2 separate regions of the Homo sapiens genome follow, and region 2 is linked to region 1. The links are contacts of gene promoters, found by promoter capture Hi-C in blood cells and fetal thymus (Javierre and others, 2016). All regions are on one chromosome and are shown on one strand. The core of a region is centred on a gene start or on the middle of the fragment in contact, and the rest is flanking DNA. Distances in the headings are between cores, read along the strand shown.

Region 1 (7,785 bases), core at 2,379-4,878:
TCTAATGCCTAGATTCTTTTGTGGTTGTTGCTGGCCCAATGAGTCCCTAGTCACATCCCCTGCCAGAGGGAGTTCTTCTTTTGTGAGAGACACTGTAAACGACACAAGAGAACAAGAATAAAACAATAACTGTGTGTGTTCTGGCTGAGACCTTCATTTCCCTGCTTTCTTGCTTTGAACAAATATGATAACTGGATGGTTCACATTCATGAGTTCCCTCAGAGGGGATGGGGATGAGGAAAACACACTGGAGGAGATATTTACATCTTTGGGAACAAATTGGTCCCCTATTACACTATAATAGGCAATGCACATTCAGAATACAGCCAGTGGGAAATCTACATTTTACTTATTTAGTTAGCTATTTTTAATTTCGACTTTTATATTAGGTATAGAGGGTACATGTGCAGGTTCGTTACATGGGTATATTGCATCCAGGTAGTGAGCCTAGTACTAAATAGATAGTTTTTCAAAAAATGCCCCACTCCCTCCCTTACCCCTCAGGTAGTCCACAGTGTCTACTGTTTCTATGTTCATGTCTATGTGTGTTCAGTGTTTAGCTCCCACTTATAACTGAGAACATATGGAAGTTGGTTTTCTGTTTCTGCATTGCTTTGCTTAGGATTATGGCCTCCAGCTTCATCCATATTGCTGCAAAGGACATGATTTTACTTTTTTATTATGACCATATAGTATATCATGGTATATATGCACCACATATTTTATCCAATCCACCATTAATGGGCAACTACATTAATTCCGTGTCTTTGCTATTGTGAATGGCACAACAATGAACATACATGTGCATGTCTGTTTGGTACAACAATCTACTTTCCTTTGGATATATACATAGTAATGGGGTTGCTGAATCAAATGGTAGCTCTGTTTCAAGTTTTTTGAGAAATCTTCAAACTGGTCACTCTCCATACGTTCGTAAAAATATTATGCCTTGGAATGCTAACGTTACTCCTAAAAATTGGAGTACTCTCCTTGGCCTTACTGTAGAGATAAAAGGTATAGATGTCCTCATTACTTAGAGTTGCTTTCCACAGTGGCTGAACTACGTAACTGCTTAAGCTACATCCCCATGAATAATGTATAAGCATTCCCTTTTCTCTGCAGTCTCACAGTGTCTGTTGTTTTTTGATTTTTTAATAATGGCCATTCTGACTAGTGTGAGATTGTATCTCATTTTGGCTTTGATTTGCATTTCTCTGATAATTAGTAACGTTGAGCATTTTTTGTAGGCTTATTGGCCTCTTGTGTGTCTTCTTTTCAGAAGTATCTGTTTATGCTCTTTGCCCATTTTCTATTGGGGTTATTTGTTTTTTGCTTCTTGATTTGTTTAAGTTTCTTATGGATTCTGAATATTAGACCTTTGTTGGATGCATAGTTTGCATATGCTTTCTCCCATTTTGTAGATTGTCTATCAATAGTTCCTTTTGCTCTGAAGAACCTCTTTAATTAGGTCCCACTTGTCAATTTTTGTTTTTGTTGCAATTGCTTTTGAGGACTTAGCCAAAAATTACTTGTCAAGATTAATGTCAAAAAGAGTATTTCCTAGGTTTTCTTCTAGGACTTTTATGGTTTGAGGTCTTAAATCTTTAATTCATCTTGAGTTAACTTTTTATATGGTGAAAGATGAGGGTGCAGTTTCATTCTTCTGCATATGGCTAGCCAGCTATCACAGCACCATTTATTGAGTAGGGAATCCTTTCCCCATTGATTGGTTTTGTTAACTTTGTCGAAGATCAGATGGTTGTAGGTATATGACTTTATTTCTGGGTTCTCTATTCTGTTCCATTGGTCTATGTGTTTGCTTTTGTACCAGTACCATGCTATTTTGGTTACTGTAGCCTTGTAGTATAGTTTGAAGTTGGGTAATGTGACGCCTCTGTTTTTGTTCTTTTTGATTAGGATTGCTTTAGCTAGTCAGACTCTTTTTTGGTTCCATATAAATTTTAGAATAGTTTCTTTTCTAATTCTGTGAAGAATGACGTTGGTAGTTAGATAGGAATAGCACTGAATCTGTTAATTTCTTTGGGCAGTATGGCCATTTTGAAGATACTGATTCTTCCTACCCATGAGCATGGAGTGTTTTTTCATTTGTGTCACCTCTGATTTCTTTCAAAAGTGTTTTGTATTTCTCCTTGTAGAGATATTTTACCTCCTTGGTTATCTGTATTCCTAGGCATTTCATTTTATTTGTAGCTATTGTAAATGAAATTGTGTTCTTGATTTTACTCTCAGCCTGGACATTATTGCTGTATAGAAATGCCACTAATTTTTGTACACTTATTTTTTTCCTGATACCTTACTGAAATCATTCATCAGTTCCAGTAGCCTTTTGGCAGAGTCTTCAGAGCTTTCTAGGCATACAATCATATTGTCAACAAGGAGAAATAGTTTGACTTTTTCTTTTCCTGTTTAGATGCCTTTTATGTCTTCCTCTTGCCTAATTGCCCTGGCTAGGGCTTCCTAATTTCTTTTGTAATATTTTCACATGAAAATTCTCCTAAGCTTAAAACTACATATCCCAATGCCTGTGGAAATCTCATCTTGGACTTCCTCAGACACTTGTGAGCAAAATCAAACTTCATCTCATTCTTCTGCTTAAGACTTTTCAGTGGTTCCCATCACCTACAGAATAAAATTGATGCTCCCGCGCTTAGTGTATCATATAAAGCCTGCTGTGAGCTGGTCCCAACATGCCTTTCTGTCCACATGTATCACTTCCTTCCTTTTCATCATTCTCAATTACTAGTAATTCTGTCACACATTATATTTGCATATCTGTGCTTTGGTTCTTTTTTTTTTTTTTTTTTTTTTTTGAGACGGAGTCTCGCTCTGTCGCCCAGGCTGGAGTGCAGTGGTGCTATTTCGGCTCACTGCAAGCTCTGCCTCCCGGGTTCAGGCCATCCTCCTGCCTCAGCCTCCCGAGTAGCTGGGACTACAGGCGCCCGCCACCACACCTGGCTAATTTTTTGTATTTTTAGTAGAGATGGGGTTTCACCATGTTAGCCAGGATGGTCTCAATCTCCTGACCTCGTGATCCACCTGCCTCAGCCTCCCAAAGTTCTGGGATTACAGGTATGAGCCACCACGCCCGGCCTGTGCTTTAGTTCTTTACATGAAACTCCCTTTCTACCTTGTGTTGCCTGGCAAAATCTTACTTACCCAGAACTCTGCTCCGGCATCCTCCGCAGGAAGAACACTTTCATTGAACCCTAGCATTGTCCCTAATACCCTTAATATGTATTGTCATAGCACCCTATGAATTTTTCTATATCACTTTCCATCTTATATTTAAATAATCTTTTTACTTGCCCATCTCTCCCACTGATAATCTAAGCTGGCAGAGGCTGGATCAGATCATAATTATCTTTCTATTCTTAGCGCTAGGATCAATGCCTGGCATAGCATATTTACATTTTTTATTTAAATAAACTGACCTGACTTTCTTCTGGTTGGATATGTTCTGAGTCCCTATTACTAACCTTGGTCTTTTATCTCAGAAGTTGAAGGCTCCCCTGGAGCCAGCTGCAAAGTTCCCAAAGCCCTAACAACCCCACAGCCAATCAGCTACAGAGTAGGCTGCCCTGAGTCGGCCTCCCCAACACAAAGTCCAGGGTTGGAGCAGGAGCAGGAGAGGGACAATGGAAGCTGCCCCGTCCAGGTTCATGTTCCTCTTATTTCTCCTCACGTGTGAGCTGGCTGCAGAAGTTGCTGCAGAAGTTGAGAAATCCTCAGGTAAAAGAAAAATGTAGTTGGGTGGCTATAGTGTGAAAGTGTTATTAGGAGAAGGAAAGGGAGCATGGTGGTTCTCTGGGTACTTTTCCTCCACACCTAGAAAGCTTTCCAGGAAATCCTGGATAAGTGCATTTTGCCTGGTAGAGAGTAGGGAAGTCTGGCAGTATCCTTCAGAGACAGACCATCAGTAGGGTCACCTTCCATATGTTAGTAAAAATATTATGCCTTGGAATGCCAACAGTACTCCTATAAATTGTGCTCTTCTTGCCCTTAGTATAGAGATAAAAGGTATAGATGCCCTCATTATTTAGAGCTGCTTCTTCTTGCCTCAGTACCCTGACATCTTCTGCTTCTCTCTCTAGATGGTCCTGGTGCTGCCCAGGAACCCACGTGGCTCACAGATGTCCCAGCTGCCATGGAATTCATTGCTGCCACTGAGGTGGCTGTCATAGGCTTCTTCCAGGTTAGTTCCCTACTTGCAATTCCCCCAAGAGCCAGAAATGTTCTACCTTAAGGGAACCACAGCAGCCACCTGCTGCTGGCAGATGGCACTGCATTAGAAGTGGGGGTAAAGGGAGACAGCCACCCAGTTTGATTTCATCTTGTCCATTGGGACCTCTTATTTTCAAGACATTCCCAGTCTCTAAATTATATCTTTCTCATACTTACTTCAAGAGTTCTGAGCCTGTGGGCTGCATCTCCTCATCTATGGATGCTTTGAAGCTCAAGTCAGTATCTGCAGAAAGAATGCCTTCATGGAACCCCACCATTGTCCTAAACACATTTGGTCTATACTCTCATAGCACCCTATGAATAGGCAGGGGCCAGAGTGAACCCAATTTATATCATCCAGCAACACTGTTTACAGGATGCCAAACATCCTGGACATTAGTCAGTGCACAGCCTTTTAAAGCCTTTCCCCCAAATATGGTAGACTCTCCTTCTTTCTCTTTGCCTTGTCTGAAATGTTGGAAAATGATGGCATTTTGTATATTCAAGGTGTTAACCTCCATCTTCCAGATTAGCTTCTTGACTAAGAAAGGCAGCCATAAATGAGACTGCCTCATTCCAGCATTTTCATCTTTCTCTGGTGGTAGCATCTGGAAATCCTCACAGCTGATCAAGCCCCTACTCTCTCATAGCAGACCTTCTTGTCTGTTTCCATTTCTCAGTTACAACTCCTGATTACCCTGTCAGTTCTGCGTACACAGTTGGAAATCACTGCAATGAGATGCAAGTCAGGGAGAAAGACAGGGACAACATTTTTCAGGAATGAGAAATCTGAGCTGTAGACAAAAACACCGTCAGAAAGATGGGGAAGGGGCAAGAGCATGGAATTGGAGGAGTGTGCAATAACTTAAACAGCCGCCAGATGCCATCATTTTATCCTCCAGCAATTCCATCTGAAGGAGCAGAATAAGAGAGGAGGCCTCAATTAATTATTGTTCATGGCCTCTAGAAGAGTAGATACCAGCTCCCTCTGCTTGACCCCAGATGCAAGACGGGTATGTTAGTTTCTTCTCATGCTGCCAATAAAGACATACCCAAAACTGGATAATTTATAAAGGAAAGAGTTTTAATTGAATCACAGTTCAGCATAGCTTGGAAGGCCTGAGGAAATTTACAATCATGGCAGAAGGAACCTCTTCACAGGATGGCAGGAGAGAGAATGAGCACAAGCAGGGGAATGCCAGACGCTTAAAAAACCATCAGATCTTGTGACTCATGCACTATCACGAGAACAGCATGGGGGAAACTGCCCCCATGATCCCATTACTGCCACCTGGTCCCACCCTTGACATGTGGGGATTATGGGGATTACATTTAAAGATGAGATTTTAGGTAAGGACACAGCCAAACCATATCAACTGGCCATCTTCTTTTCTCCTTGCACATCTCCTCCTTCAGCCTGGGGACTTGCAGGGTAGAACATGTTTGTTCCTGTTAATTTCCTGGAGCTGCTATGGATAAAGGTCCCGTGAGAGCAGGGAAAATGATGCCAGCGTCTATGGAAGGCCTGGAATCACTGTTCGCAAGTGGCTTCTCTGCTGCCTCCTGCAGGCCTGGGCTGCAGAGTTGAATGCGTGAACAGCATCTTCATGTGCAAAGCTCAGGTTTATCTACAGTGGCAAGAGAGGGACTGTCCTTCCATAACCTGCATAAACTTTTGTTAAAACTTCTAAGCTTTCATTTTAATTGTTTTATTTTTCTTCTTTTTTTCTTTTTTGGCCCTTTTGATGGCGTCTATTTCATATTTTTGCATTTTTTCCTTTCATCCACAAATGTAACCAAAGCCAAAACTCAAGAGGAAGAGCCGGTGGGAGGAAAAGCCAGTTTATTTGAAGATCCAGTAAACCAAGAAGACAGCGGACTAGCATCCTAAAGTACATCTTGGCCGGGCACAGTGACTCACACCTGTAATTCTAGCACTTTGGGAGCCTGAGGGAGGTGGATTGCCTGAGCTCAGGAGTTCAAGGCTGGCCTGGGCAACATGGCAAAACCACATCTCTACTAAAAATACAGAAAAAATTAGCCAAGTATGGTGGTGAACACCTGTAGTCCCAGCTACTCAGGAGGCTGTGGCACAAGTATCCGTGAGGCAGAGGTTGCAGTGACCCAAAATTTTGCCACTGCACTCTAGCCTGGGTGACAGAGCAAGACTCTGTGTCAAAATAAATAAACAAAGTACATCTTAAGCCACTACCAATTTTAGGTTCTTTGTATGTTAAGGGCAGGGTGAAGAGGAGGGAGTTGGGATCAAGTGATAACCGGCAACCACAGGCATCTGGGCCCCAGCAAGTGTCTCAGGAAGTTGGGAACTTCTTTGTCCTTGGTCAGGTCACAAGGCACCTATAAATCTGTAGCACTACATAGTTAGTTGTTTACATACTTTTCCTTTAATCCCAGAGTTAGTTTTAAAAACTATATAACTCCTATTTTTGCCTATTATCTCAGTGCTCTAAAATTATTCTAACCTACATGCAGGAATGAGTAAATAAATGCCCTTTAAACAAAAATAGAGTTGGTTATGTTAGTTTGTTTGCTATTTCACCGTTAAACAAATTGTTCCCAGAAGAGTTGCTTCTCATGTGTATCTACAACAGTGCAGCCAAACTAGGCAGGCCTTTATGATTTTGAGGCCTCTCTCAGCCCCTAGTAAACTTCAAGCTCTATGACAAGGCCTGACAGGAGTCTCAGGCTCAGCTACAATTTCGTGGTTACCTATTAACTTACAGAGCCTGGAAAATTCAAGAATGTCACTGCCAGTTAAACCTGAATTGTTAGGGGTAAATCATGTGTTACTGGGCAGTAAATCAAATCTATGATTTCTGGTAAACATCATATCATATTTCTTTTGCCTATCGTTTGTCTCTGCCCTTCGAAATAACCACTGTGGTATTATTTTTTCTCTTGTTTTTAGGATTTAGAAATACCAGCAGTGCCCATACTCCATAGCATGGTGCAAAAATTCCCAGGCGTGTCATTTGGGATCAGCACTGATTCTGAGGTTCTGACACACTACAACATCACTGGGAACACCATCTGCCTCTTTCGCCTGGTAAGTTGGGTGGGTAGCTTGAGCTTTCTCCCAGATTTTCACTGGGTTGTGGACTCATAAACTTGTGAGACTGGAAAGGACTCTATGTCTTTTACACTAATGATGGTACCAAATTCAGGGACATTGTTGACAAGGATGATGACTCAATTCAAGCTTCCCAAACAGGTACTGTAATGAAATGGAAAGAGGACAGGACTGAAAGCCAGGGAATGGAATTTGTGGTACTGCTTTGTCGCTCAACAGCCACATGACTTTGGGCAGTCACTTAACATTTTTTATCTCCAATTCTTTCCTTTATAAAATAAAAGAGTTAGACTGTATTATCTCTAAGGTCACTTTGAGCTCCAAAATTTTTATATTAAATATTTTGAGGAGTTCATTTATGTTCTTCAAACATTTATTAAATACTTCCTGTATGCCCTATGCAAGATACCGATAATAAAAACATATTAAATATATTCTCCAGTCTCATAGAT
Region 2 (7,785 bases), core at 2,403-4,902, 110 kb after region 1:
ATATATATATATATATATATATATATATATATATATATATATATACATACATACAGTACACACATACACACACAGAGTAATTTCTGTCTTTTCTGTCTTGGAATTTCTACTTGTATACACACACACACACACACACACACACACACACACACACACACTCCTATATAGAAATTCCAAAAAACTAAAAAATGTATATATTGTGTGAAAATAGTAGAAATGTATTTCTCCCTCATCTGGTTATCCTATCAAACAATATGAGCAAATATTGAGGCAATTAGAGTTGAATCTCTTCCTCCCAGAAACATCTTTTCTACCTTAAACAATAGTGAAAACTGGCTGCAAAGAGATTCCAGTCTTTATTTAGACTATTTTTTACAGGGTTTCCATCTCCCATCTCATTTCAGTCCCCACCCCATTATATGGCCAATTATTAGTTATATCTGACAATATTTTTTTTTATTTTCCAGTTTTGCTTCCACACCTAACTGGCTGCTAACCTGTCCCACATTTCCTGTGAAAGGTGTATATGTGTAGTTAGAACACACACACACACACACACACACACACACACACACTCCAAACAGGATTGTGTGAATATTTCTTGCTCACCTTGTAATGAAAAATTCTATGGATGGACATGTAATACACAGACAAACAGGTTAGTGGTTAAGAATGCAGAATTGAGACAAACTGGCCAAGTTTGAATGGTGCCTATACTATTTACAAGATGTGTGACACTGGCAAGTTTTTTCTCATCTCTGTGTCACAATCTCATCAAGTAAAAACCAAGGATATTGAGAATAAAAATCTCATAGGTTTGTTGTGAGGCTTAAGTTAATATATAGCAAGGGCTCGAAATAGATCCTAGCACAAAATCAGCATTCAGTCTGTGTTAACTTTCATAATGGTGATGAAGATGATGATAATTAAGATGGGGATAATGCTAACAGTGATTATGCTGCTGGTGATGATAAAGATGGAAAATTAGATCTCTACCACCAGCTGGCTGGGTTACCTGGGAGTACATCTTTTAACCTCTTGGTGTCTGTTTCATCATCTGCAAAATAAGCAAGTTATGTTAGAAAAATCTAAAATAATGTGTTTTAAGTAGCTAACTTCAAATGTTTTTATTAGGAATTTTCTAAGTTAAGTAAGTGGATCAATGGATAGATGAGGTAGTTTTAAAAAAAACTCTGCTACCTAAAATATTTCCTTTGTTTTGTTTTTTACAGCTTCCAGCAAGAAATGCATCCCTGATCCTATAGCTATTGCATCTCTCTCCTTTTTGACCAGTGTCATCATCTTTTCCAAAAGCAGAGTATAAAGAAATCTTGTGGCTCCTTTTATTTAAAAAAAATATTTAAATAAAATCTTTTTTATTGGCCTTTTGGCTAGAAATGGACATTTATTTTCCAGGAAGGATGATCCCATCATACTTCTGCTGAAACCAGTGCATGGCCTCCTCTTTGCTAATTCTCTTATGCCTTTCCTTGTACCCCTTTGCCTTATTTCAATCTGGGCACCCTAAGTACTCTTGGGGAAATCACTCTGCCCAGCTAGCAACTGATGCAGAGCTGGCTCAGCCCACTGACTGTGATTGGCCTGTAACTCAGGCCTTAGCCAATCAGTATATTTCTTCTTCATGGACACAAAGATTCATGCTGGAATAGAAAATGATCCAATCAGAGCCTGTGAGATACAATCAGGGTACTTTTGTGGAATTGCAATTGGAAATAGAATGGGAGCTTCTTTTCTGAATGGATATTAATGAAAGCAGGGTAGGAGCTTATAGCTGCCAGCAAAGATCCCGCCACCAGGAGAGGAGACCCCATCTCCTTGAGAAAGGATCTAACACAACAAAGGAAGAGCTGATAAGTGAAAAGAAACTGAGACCTGATGAGAATGTATAAGCCTCTGGATCCAACTTTGCCTAAAGCTGAATACTACAAGATTTTTCATTACATAAATCAATAATTTATGTTTTTGCTTGCATAATTTGAATTAGATTTTCTATGTCAAGCATCAAGCAGTTGAAGTTCCAACGAATACAAGCACTCTTCCTTATTTTTTTTAATTTAGTTATTCTAAATAGGAACAAATCAAAGAAGATTAAATTAGAAAGCAAAGGACAAATTCTTCACCAAACAGAAAAGCTTTGAACCCCAGAGATTAACCAAGGTGTGAATTTTCTTCAGAGATTTTTTATGAGCATTCAAGATTAAGCTAGTATGGCCTCAGATGAGAAGACACATGGAAACTTGAGAAATAAAAGGGAAAGTTAATGAAAGATGTTAGTGAAATTTCATTCACCAGCAGTAATGGGTGTTCATGCATGTTCCTAAGACATTACAAAAGTTAAAATTTAAACTCATATGTTAATTCATAGAGAACTTGATGGCAAATTTAAGTCTTCATAGCAAATTTAAATATTAGGAAAACATGAGGGTATGTGTGAAGGTTAACAGAGAGTATGAGAGAAAAAAACACTGATTACAAACAAATATCAGCAATATAGCGAGGTCTCATTACATGTAAACTAGTACATGCAAAGAAGTATAAATTGTTGAATTGTATAGCTGGAAATGTCCTCTAACGCTTCCCTCAGGTAGTAATTTAGGTAGCGACATAAGGGATTATTTAACCCGATCACGATCACTGAAGACCCTGGTATCAGGCTAAATGGAGTAAAGATGAGGGCTAGCTCTATAATTTTGGATTTTGAAAGTCCATGCTCCTTATCCCTTTTAAGATTTGGATAAGAAACAGCAAAACTGAAAATCGGTCCATCTATTTACTCTCCATAGGACTTCCTGAATGGCCTGTGTCATGATCAAAGAAATGGAATGGGGAATAAGCTACATAAAATTACCTGGCAGGGAGTTCAGGCATCTCTGTACTATCATTCTTTAAATTGGGATTTGAAACTAACAGGGCCAAATCACCTCTGTCACCTAGTTGCAGTAGCCTCTACAGTCAATAAAGGAAAGAATTTCTGCCAGGCATGGTGGCTCACCCCTGTAATCCCAGCACTTTGGGAGGCCGAGGAGGACGGATCACGAGGTCAGGAGTTCAAGACCAGCCTGGCCAGCATGGTGAAACCCCGTCTCTACTACAAATACAAAAATTAGCCAGGCATGGTGGCACGCACCTGTAATCCCAGCTACTTGGGAGGCTGAGGCAGGAAAATTGCCTAAACCCAGGAGGCGGAGGTAGTGCAGTGAGCCAAGTTCACACCACTGCACTCCAGCCTGGGCAACAGAGTGAGACTCGATCTCAAAAAAAGAAAAAAAGAAAGAATTTCTACAAACAGACAATTTATGTGACTTGCATAGGATAGGGTCTTTGGCAGTTTGGTGGCTACCTAGTAGAGAGTCCTGGGGACATGGCTCTGGGAGCAAGCTTTTCCAGTGAGCATCGATGAGTCAGTAATGACATGCTATGTTGGTAAAAGCCACCCAACATCTTAAGTACATTTTTCCTGTGCCATATAAATGCATGTATTGAGCCATACTGTGTACAAAGCACTTTGGGGATTAAAAGTTAAGAACACTAGGCCAGATCTCTCATGAGTTTACAATCTCTTAGGAGAAATTAAGAACATAAAGCAAGCCACAAGTGAAATGCCAAAAAAAAAAAAGGCAAAAATCAAGTTTTCTGTTCATAACAATTCAAAAGAAAGATTTCTTCCAACTGAGGCAAGAAGAGACACCCGGAAGGCTTTAAGTAAGAGGCTGCATTTGAACCAGCCGTTAGGGCTCTAGGCTGGGAGAAGGGGTGAGCAGAAGGAGAAAAAAACAAGAAAGAGTATGTGCCAAGTGCGTAGTGCCCAAAACAAGGCCAAATATTAAATGCTTGGAGCTGAGAGAAAAATGTGATTCCTCTGGCCTATGGTTAGATAAAGCTTTCTATCAGAGATGATGTTTTACTTAGAGGAAAGCAGAAAATAGAAGCGAATACGGAATGATCGATGTATGTACAGCATAAGGTCAGGGAGCAGATAGGTCTGGCAGAGAGTGAGGGGTAATGTGGGCTGGAGAGGAAATTGGAAGCCACTCAGTGAAGCTAAAAAGTCAGCCAAAAGCATTTGATTTCCATGAGAAGTCATAATTTTCTGAGTAAGACAATTCTCCTAAAGCGTTGACTCTCTAGGCACAAGCAGCAATAGCATCCTTTAAGAACTCATTAGAAATGTGAATTTTAGGGCCTGATCCCAGACTACAGACTACAGAAATTGAACAGTCTGTTTTAATAAGTCCTCTAGATGATTCTGCTATACACCAACATTTGAGAACACTGTGACTTACACAATTATGATCCTTAAGGGAATAGCCAAGTTTCTAAAAAAGATAACTTAGTTCTAACTCCTGCTGCTGTTTTACAGATCAAATCTCTGGAGACAGAAACTATTCTCTTAAAATTATGTAGATTCATGAGTTTGGTTAAGGATAAATGTACATAGCTCACATCCCCTCAGTCTCTCCCTATAGTCCAAAGTTGTTGAGCAAGGAATCTGTAGAGTATTGATTTAAATTGATTAAGTTACATGTTTATGAAACTCTAAGAGACTAGTTTTAGAAATTTCACTGTAATTTCTGCTGGGATAAATTTGTTAGCCTGGGATATCTTCCAAAGATAAGGCGGATGCTCAAATATGTGTAAATTCATGCAACTGTTAACAGAGACTGTGCTGTAAGGAGTACTTATGTCCTATAGTAATTTTATTAAACAAATACATGTATGTCTCCTTTTGATGTGTACAGAAATATACTGTTTAATCTGAAGAAGCTGATTGAAACAGGAAAAATTTAAAAAGTAAAAACACTCAACCCATGTAATACTTTATTTTTATAACAAGGTGTTCTCTTTAATACGCCTATTAGATTATCCTGAAGTTCTCTATTTACTCTTACTTTAAAAAAAATCCAATGAAAGAAAATTTCAGTAAAGTTTGTTTTGCTAGAAGAATCAGGATTCTTGTACTGAGTTGTCTAATAATATGAATCAAATTGATTTACACTGAATGAACTAGCTCTTGATTTGGTAAAATTCAACAAGCATTTATTAGGTGCTTTCAGAAATACCAAGATGCAGCAAACACTGGCAACTAATAAAAAAAATTACAAGTATAATAGTATTTCATTTTTTTTAATAGTAAATGATCATGTGTTGTGTTGTGTGGCAGTTCACTTTTTCCTCCCTACTGATGATTCATTCAAACAGCTAGGCCATCCCATGCTCACAGCCTAGAGGAGGAATGAGACCAGGCATAGTATAGAAACACACCCCACTTTGTTCTTCAAAAACTGAAGGATATTAGAGAAAATGAGAGGAACCCAAAACCAAAGTATTTGAGAGAAACATTAAATGTGAGTAATAGGTTTGAGAAAAAAATACAGCTTTTCCTCAGTATTTCCAGAAGCCAGGAGGCAGCAGCAGACATGATGTCATTAGAGTGGTCAGACTGGTGGTACCCAGTGGTGGGAAAATGTGAAACACTGTAAGTGATCACCAGCCTAACAACAGCCACCAGCACTGGAAGACCACTCATCTTTATTGAAGTGGGCACTTCCCATCTCTAACACCCTGGTTGTCATTCCCATTGGCATCTGGCAAGGACTTCCTGTGAACTGCCACCAGCTATTCTTCCAGTCACCTCACAGAAAGACTATGCACCAAGACTTTTCTTGGTCCTTGTCTCATTCATTTCCATATGAATCCCCCTAGCTGTTGCATCCAACATTCTGAAACATAATCCTAAAACTAAAAGGAGATTGAAACCCTAGACACATATAGGTCCAGAAAAAGTAGCAAAGTGAGAGTCCTGTCTCCCTTCTCCTCTCTCTCACCCTCTGTGTGTGTGTGTGTGTGTGTGTGTGTATGTGTATGGTAGCAAATGAATCAATTTAACATCCTCTTCAAAATAATAGAGTTCTTAATAGAAACCTATTACAAATAAGCAAGGTTTCAGCTTTGCTGTGGAGAGAAAATGAGAGTTAATGTATTGAAACTCATCGTTTTTTCCAGAACCTCCAAGCTCTGGTAATGGTCAAAATCCACTTGACCCTCCCTACCAAACATTTTGAAATTATATGAGGATGGAGAAGGGACTCCTTATTTTAAATGACAATGGGAATTACAATGATGGCTTTGGCTTGGAGTTATTATTGCTTTTCCTATTCTCAACAGAGTTCTATCAGGTATCATGTGAAATAGTTAACTTCAACACCAATCTTAGGAGTACATACTCATTTACAATGCATGAGAACCAAAGACTTATGGTAGACAAAGAGACTGCCCTATCTCATTTCTTTAAATAAAGCACATCTCAGATATCCTACTTCTGCAAGTGTTTTCCTTGTGAAAGTCTTTTCTTTGTGAAAGGCTAGAGTACTTCCATTTTTCCACCTCTAGTATTTTCTAATCATAAGACCTCAGGAGACAAGTGAGAATGAACTATCTGTTCTGGTCTTACTCACATAAGCAAGAAAAGTCTATTATTGCTCATTCACTGTTCTCACTTACTTATGAATCATATTTAAAATATTTAGTGATGGCTTCTGATCGTCAAGGTACTGAAGTATATAGAAATTGGTATATGAGTGACAAAAATGGAGTTTATTTTGTTTCCCAGGCCTAGATTTTCTATCTAATGATAATATTTACAGTTTACCTGGATTTCTCACTGGAAATAGAATAGTTAAGAGTGGGAACTACTTTAGGGTTGTTTTAATTATGCTTTAAGATGAAACACAATATTTAGAAACATCCTCAAATGTAATACCACTTTGTTTTTTTCAACAATATATTCTTCTTAGTGACTGACATTTCAAACAGGCTTTCTTAATTATTTCTTTTTATTTTAATAAAGCAAAACTACAGGTAAATGTTTTGCCAGATGACTTTTGTGTACTTATGTTCTAACATAGCACATGTTTGGCACCAAAAGATCTTAGAAACTACTATGAAAAACCATAAGATTTTAAGTAGTTTTCTGACAGAAATGAACATTTCTGTTGCATCCCTACTTGTCACTGGCTTTCTTAAACACAGAAATATTCATTTCCATAGTCTTTATCGCTTTTTGGAGGATCTCTAAGATTGGTCCCATAGCCTTGACAATTTGTTCCAACAAATCTGCTGCTGACTTTGTGGGATTTTTGGAATCCTCAGTTTTTAGTACATCCTGCAGTTTTTTCAAGGTGTCTATCATAGTGGTTTTGGAAGAACCTGGAGGACTTCTGGTTCTCTCAGATGTGGTGACATCTGATTGCTCTTTGGTGTCTTCTGTATAGAAGTCACTTAATTGAAGATTCATGATGGGGAATTTCATCAAGTGTGAAAGAGAAGATTCCAGACTCCCAAGGATGTTACTGCTGTTTAGCACAGAGATGATGACTGGCGTATGGGCACTTTTGAATACTTCTTTAGCTGACTGATGCAACTCCTCTACATTGGTACTCTTCTGAACCACAGAGCACATGGCCATTGCAACCTTGGAACATAAAGACTCCTTTTGAATTTTGTCATGTCTTGCATCCACTACAGATTGCATCTCCTTAAAAATTTTGAGCATTTGCTCAAAAAAATCCTTAATGTAACTATTGTTTTTCACAGCCATCAAAAGGATTTGAGTATTCATACTGCGGCTAAACAATTCAGTCAGTGTGTTTATGACAGAAGCAAGATCTTGTACATGAAAGAAGAACATTTTGGCAGCTTGAATCAGTCTCTCTTTATCCTTTTCTGACTCTGAAGACATTTCTCCAACAAATAAGTTCCAACACT

What was found. Contacts are between HindIII fragments. The CHiCAGO score rates a contact against its expected background, and 5 or more counts as called.
Region 2: a contact is called between a fragment that was not itself captured here and the fragment with the promoter of ERP27 in region 1, in 1 of 17 cell types (total CD8 T cells). The highest score is 5.9, in total CD8 T cells.

The regions. Positions count from the first base shown.
Region 1 is chr12:14,934,380-14,942,164 of GRCh38, reverse strand. It overlaps ERP27 (endoplasmic reticulum protein 27), which reads left to right and starts at 3,628. Exons shown (of 7, transcript NM_152321.4): 1 at 3,628-3,750; 2 at 4,113-4,213; 3 at 7,172-7,309. The coding sequence starts at 3,657. ARHGDIB (Rho GDP dissociation inhibitor beta) reads left to right here. Exons shown (of 6, transcript NM_001175.7): 6 at 1-134. RefSeq lists an enhancer at 4,113-4,172. The HindIII fragment of the contact is 1,334 bases long and covers 2,523-3,856 here.
Region 2 is chr12:14,822,910-14,830,694 of GRCh38, reverse strand. It overlaps ART4 (ADP-ribosyltransferase 4 (inactive) (Dombrock blood group)), which reads left to right. Exons shown (of 3, transcript NM_021071.4): 3 at 1,233-5,126. The coding sequence ends at 1,324. It overlaps C12orf60 (chromosome 12 open reading frame 60), which reads right to left. Exons shown (of 2, transcript NM_175874.4): 2 at 6,280-7,783. The coding sequence starts at 7,759. The coding sequence ends at 7,022. Among named protein-coding and RNA genes, the nearest start is that of SMCO3, 13 kb to the right of the region's middle. The HindIII fragment of the contact is 502 bases long and covers 3,402-3,903 here.